2 separate regions of the Homo sapiens genome follow, and region 2 is linked to region 1. The links are contacts of gene promoters, found by promoter capture Hi-C in blood cells and fetal thymus (Javierre and others, 2016). All regions are on one chromosome and are shown on one strand. The core of a region is centred on a gene start or on the middle of the fragment in contact, and the rest is flanking DNA. Distances in the headings are between cores, read along the strand shown.

Region 1 (2,942 bases), core at 181-2,680:
CAGGACCTCAAAATCAAACCCCGCCACATGCAGCTCGCAGGCCTGCAGGAGGAAAGACAGGTTAGCAAAGTTTGATGACATTGACAGGCCTGAGACTGACTTCCCTAAAGCCACAGTCCAGCGTCCTCACCCCTCTGGAAGTATCCTGGATCTTCCACACCATCCACCCACCTCCTGAACTATGATCCCTCCTGCTTCATTGCCTCCTTTCCATCCAGGGCCACTCCTCATAACTCCCTGATCCCACCACCCCTCCTGCCCCATTACCCCTGCCCTCTCCCTTATGAGCACCTGGCTGATTCGGTTGAAGCCGTACTGCCGAAAGCGCTCGTCGAAGGTGGGCACCTTGCCTCCTGCCACGTAGAATGGCTCCCAGGGGTCCTGCCAAGGTACCACGTAGGCGGGCCGCAGCAAGCTCTCTTCCGGCAGGTTGACCCAGCGGGAATAGTTGGTGGGTGCCTGGCAGGGGGTGCACAACCCATAATAGAAGGGCCGCACCTCGCCAACCTGGTAGAGCTGCACCAGCTCGTTTTTGTTCATGGGCATGCGGCGGGCTCTTCGGATTTCGAAGGCAGGCACCACCAGCGCGGTGCCTCCCCACTGGTTGCTCTGATCCAGCATTTCCCGCAGGCCTCTCCACAGCCCCTCGCTGGGCACCATGTCCACATCGATCACCAGGGCATAGTTGGCCCCCTCACGAGCCAGATTCCTCAGCAGGTTATTGGGGTAGGAGACATTGGTGCCCAGCGCATAATTAATCCCGGGCTGGGCCACCCTGGCTAGCTTGTCAAAGACCTCCTGGCAGGACCGCAGCAGGGCAAACTCCCCCGGCTCCCGGGGGTCGGGCACGGCTGCCTCGTAACGCGAGGGGCACACGAGGTGCATGGCGACCCTGGCGCGCATGTCGGGGCAGTGGCTGCTCAGCGCGTAGGCCAGCACCGTGGCCAGCTGCGCCTCCTCCTTGGTGGCCGCGAACACCGACACGGACAGCGGGCCCTCCCAGCGCTCCAGCAGACCCGACAGGTGCAGCAGGTTGTCCACGCTGGCGTGCGTGGCCAGGATCACATCGTTGGGGTCCATGGTGGTCTTCAGCAGGCCCCTGTAGACGCGGTAATCGCCGCTAGCGTCCAGGACGCCTCCAGAGGCCAGCGCGGTGCGGAGCTGCGCCTTGACCTGGTCCACGGACCGTGGGGACGGGGGAAAGAACTCAAAATATTGGTCTTGCTCCTCCTGCCCGTGCAGTCCGGACAGCAGCGACAGGTAGAGCAGCTGCAGCATCGCCACCAGCATGAGCGCGGCCAGCAGCAGCTGGTAGAAGGCGCACCGGATGGCGTAGGACATCTGCATGGCTCTCGGGGCTCGGGGCGCGCAGCAACGACCACCCGGCCACAGACTACGCCAGCGGCCGCAAGCCCGGATTTACCGCAGCCTGCCGAGCGCAGCCGAGGCGAGCCGAGGCCAGCCGAGCCCCGAGCGCCGCCCCGCCCGCCGCCCGCCGCCCGCCGCCCGCCGCCCGCCACCGCCCCCAGCCCCCGGCGCGCCGGCTCGCCCCCTACGAGGGAGGAGGAGCCACGGCCCCGCCGCTCGGCCGCGCGCCGTGCAGACGCCCGCCCGCCCGGGCCCCGCCGGCTTCCCGGGACGCACTCCTCTCCCTCCCCGCCGGCGCGCGCACCCTGGACCGGGCGCGCCCTGAACGCGCGGCGCGCTCGGCCGGACTCGGAGGGAAACCGCGGCAGAGCTCGGCTGCAGCGTGGTAAAGGATGGCGCGGGCTCAGCAGAAAGGAAATCAAAACGCTCCCTTCCTTCCGCGGCTTCTTCTTTCCCTGTGTCCGAAGAGGTCTGCGTTGCGACTTACGTGGTAGTGCTTGGAAGGTGCGGAGTAGATGAGAGATAAGTGAATGTGGACAAACCTGTCACGTAGGACGAGGTGGCCGAGTGGTTAAGGCGATGGACTGCTAATCCATTGTGCTTTGCACGCGTGGGTTCGAATCCCATCCTCGTCGGCCCTGTTTTATAGAGGTTGGGGGGGAAGCATCTACATTTTCACATCCTGCCTATTTGGAGCAGCAAGCTGGAGGTGCGAGGGGTGAGGCATCTAAATTTTCACATCCTGCCTGTGGAGCAGCAAGCTGAAGAAAACTGAACTGGGGGTGAGAGTGGAATTCGATCCCAAGTCTCTCTGGTCTTTATCCACCACGCATCTCCTGCCTGCTCCTACTTCAGGTGTCTGTAGCTCTGGGCAGAGGCCAAAGGTGTTTTCTTTCCTTCTAGAAAGAGGGCCCAGGGGTTGGTGGCACGGAAAAGACTAGAACCGGGATTCTGGCCAGTGTGAAGTTGGGGGCCAACGTATGATCTGCAGGAATCAGGGAAGCCCCCCATTGGAGGCATCGCCCTCCCCGTCCGAAGTAGTGGTACTTGTCCTACTCTCCAGCACTTCTCCTAGGGCGGAGACCTTGTGTCCACATGCCCTGCTCCCCAACACACACAATCTCTTTTTTTTTTTTTTTTTTTTTTTTTGAGGCGGATTCTCGCTCTGTCGCCCAGGCTGGAGCGCAGTGGCGCGATCTCGGCTCACTGCAACCTCTGCCTTCCAGGTTCAAGCGATTCTCCTGCCTCAGCCCCGAGTAGCTGGGACTACTAGCGCATGCAGCACGCCCGGCTAATTTTTTGTATTTTTAGCAGAGACGGAGTTTCACCGTGTTAGCCAGGATGGTCTCGGATCTCCTGACCTCCTGATCCGCCCACCTCGGCCTCCCAAAGTGCTGGGATTACAGGTGTGAGCCACCGCGCCCGGCCGCACACAAACTCTTAAGCAGAAGGCTTTGAACATTCCAATATCAGGCCACTATACTCTTAATAAGTATTTGTGGATTAATTCATCTGTGGACTCTTTAGAACAGGAGAGGCCGTGGGAAGGGCAGACACTGCCACTGCTAAATCAA
Region 2 (2,942 bases), core at 123-2,622, 450 kb after region 1:
TTGCTCTTTTGGTCGACTCCCAGCATTATGTGAGGTGAAGGCGTAAAGCCTTGTTGTCCCTCTGCATGTTTTACTCTCCTCTCGAGTACGAATGTGGGTAGAAATTGGAAATTGTCTCACTTGTCATTTGTAAGTGCCAGGTGTCAGCTTCTCTATAAGAAAAGCAGAAGTAAAACTTTTTTTTATGTTGAAAACTGCTATTTTAAGTTATTTATGTATTTGAATCTATTCTAAATGACCTGAAGACATGTGCCTTCTTCTCTTCAGGCCTTATTTTACACAGACCCTGCTAGTTCCAATCCCATTTAGGCATGAGAAGAGAAGACTATGAATTTAAAACTTTACTTGAATTCTTGGCTAGAGAGATAGTATGAATACAAAGGAATTCAGTGTACATTATTTTCTGTGCATCAGCATTTTGCATAGGTTTGGAAATCATCTCTCTGCCCATCTCCATCTTCTTCAGACTCCAAGAAAGTAAATCTGGCCAGGCGCAGTGGCTCATGCCTATAATCCCAGCACTTTGGGAGGCTGAAGTTGATGGATCACTTGAGGTTAAGAGTTTGAGACCAGCCTGGCCAACATGGCAAAACCCTGTCTCTGCTAAAAATACAAAAATTAGCTGGGCATGGTAGCACATGCCTGTAATCCCAGCTACTTGGGAGGCCAAAGCATGAGAATCACTTGAACCCAGGAGGTGGAGGTTGCAGTGAGCCGAGATCACGCCACTGCACTCCAGCGACAGAGCAAGACTCTGTCTCAAAAAAAATAAATAAATAAAAAATGTAAAAAATCCATGGAGGAGGTGGTAAACAATATGGAACACACAGAGCCCTTCTGTCTTGCCTTCCTGTGCCATTTAACTACCACAGAATCCAAAGTGAAAATGAATTATGTCAAGAAAAGACCTAACATATGCTTAAGTCCAATTAATTTATTTTTTCTTTTTTTGAGACAGGGTCTCAGTCTGTTCAACCCAGATGCCATCATAGCTCACTGCAGCCTTGGTCTCCTGGGCTCAAGTCATTTTCCCACCTCAGCCTCTCGAGTAGCTAGTAGCTAGGACCACAGAAATATGCTACCATACGCTGCTAATTTTTTTTTTTTTTGAGACGGAGTCTCGCTCTTTCGCCCAGGCTGGAGTGCAGATCTCACCTCACTGCAACCTCCACCTCCCTGGTTCAAGCGATTCTCCTGCCTCAATCTCCTGAGTAGCTGGGACTATAGGTGCATGCCACCACGCCCAGCTAATTTTTTTGTATTTTTAGTAGAAATGGGGTTTCACCATGTTGGCCAGGATGGTCTCAATCTCCTGACCTCGTGATCCTCCTGCCTCGGTCTCCCAAAGTGCTGAGATTACAGGCATGAGCCACTGCGCCCAGCCCATATACTGCTAATTTAAAAAAAATTTTTTTTTGTAGAGATGAGGTTGTTGCCTAGGCTGGTGTCAAACTCCTGGACTCAAGCAATCCTCCTGCCTCGGCCTTTCAAAGAGCTGGGATTACAGATGTGAGCCAATGTGTCCAGCCCTAATTTAGTCTTTATTCATTAGTTTCTGCCTCTATTTATGTGCCCAGAGGCAACACTAGTAGTCAAAGTCTCTTAAGGCTTAAAGAGACTGCCTGTGGTTCTTAGTCTGTTTTCTTATTCTCACCCAAAATTACACCTCAGATGAGAATATTTTTGTCATTTAATATGCAGGTAATAATTTCCCCACCCCATATCTTTCTTTAGTGATCCTCTAATAATAAACAATCCTTACAGGTAGCAGCTCATCATCATAGTTGTACTGACACAAGTTTAAGCCTTTGAGCCAATTTTTGTAGATGTGTTTCCTTGGATGACCTGATTAGAGACAAAGGGAAAGGTTCATTAATATTTCCTCTCTATTAATTAATTCATTCATTCTTAATCAGCTTTCTCAGGTTGACTGTTTTCTCTCTGTTTAGAAAAGAGCTATTGGAAAGTAACAAAATTTTACTAGATTCTTTCTAGGAGAGAAAGATGGCCTGGTTTTTTCTCATTGTTACTATCAAACAGCAACCTCAGACCTCTTCAGCGGAAGGTGTAGCATGCGTGAGAGCAGACTTATAAGTATCATGGGGCCAGTTTTAGGCCATTTGTGATTCATGGGCCCCCTCACACAATGCTGACCTTTGAATGAATTTGGAAATTTGCTCAGAACCAAAGATTAATTTTAGTGGAGGAAGTATACTTGAGAATAAGAAACAGGCTGGTCATGATATCTCACACCTGTAGTCCCAGCACTTTGGGAGGCCAAGGCAGAAAGATTGCTTGAGGCCAGGAGTTTGAGACCAGCCTAATAAACATAGTGAGACCCCATCTCTAATAAAATAAAATAATAGTAATTATTTTTCGAGACAAAGTCTCGCTCTGTTGCTCAGGCTGGAGTGCAGTGGCGCAATATCAGCTCACTGCAACCTCCGCTTCCCAGGTTCAAGCGATTCTCCTGCCTCAGCCTCCTGAATAGCTGGGATTACAGGTGTGCACCATCATGCACAGCTATTGTATCTTTAGTAGAGATGGAGTTTCACCATGTTGGCCAGGTTGGTCTTGAACTCCTGACCTCAAGTGATCCACCCACCTCAGCCTCCCAAAGTGCTGGGATTACAGGCATGAGCCACAATGCCTGGTCTAAAATGTTTTTTTAAAAAGAGAAACTAAGAAGCATCCGTTAGTGGCAGCAAAAGCAGGAGCAATGATATCTCTGAAATGCCAGTTTTTCTACTACTTCCATTGCTGTGATTCCCTGAGTGAGACATAAGTTATTTATTCCAACAAAACTGATATGGCAGGTTGTGTGGTTGTACATATGCTAGAGGTTACAAAAATAATTTTGAATGCTCTTTTAAATAATTTCTTAAGAGGAAAAAATGTTAAATTTGACTTGTCTGTTTTCTGACAGTAGACCAAATTTTGGT

The links. The method cuts DNA at HindIII sites, captures the fragments that hold promoters and counts their contacts. A CHiCAGO score of 5 or more calls a contact.
Region 2: a fragment that was not itself captured here is called in contact with the fragment with the promoter of B4GAT1 in region 1 in 1 of 17 cell types (M2 macrophages); the score reaches 5.0 in M2 macrophages.

What each region holds. Positions count from the first base shown.
Region 1 is chr11:66,346,199-66,349,140 of GRCh38, forward strand. It overlaps B4GAT1 (beta-1,4-glucuronyltransferase 1), which reads right to left and starts at 1,431. Exons shown (of 2, transcript NM_006876.3): 1 at 292-1,431; 2 at 1-42. The coding sequence starts at 1,347. It overlaps B4GAT1-DT (B4GAT1 divergent transcript), which reads left to right and starts at 1,793. Exons shown (of 2, transcript NR_135761.1): 1 at 1,793-1,872. TRS-GCT3-1 (tRNA-Ser (anticodon GCT) 3-1) reads left to right here and starts at 1,922; the gene lies at 1,922-2,003. RefSeq lists a silencer at 1,475-2,064 and an enhancer at 2,091-2,591. The HindIII fragment of the contact is 12,978 bases long and covers 1-2,942 here.
Region 2 is chr11:66,801,069-66,804,010 of GRCh38, forward strand. It overlaps TOP6BL (TOP6B like initiator of meiotic double strand breaks), which reads left to right. Exons shown (of 15, transcript NM_001302084.2): 6 at 1-34; 7 at 2,927-2,942. Among named protein-coding and RNA genes, the nearest start is that of RCE1, 41 kb to the right of the region's middle. The HindIII fragment of the contact is 3,787 bases long and covers 1-2,942 here.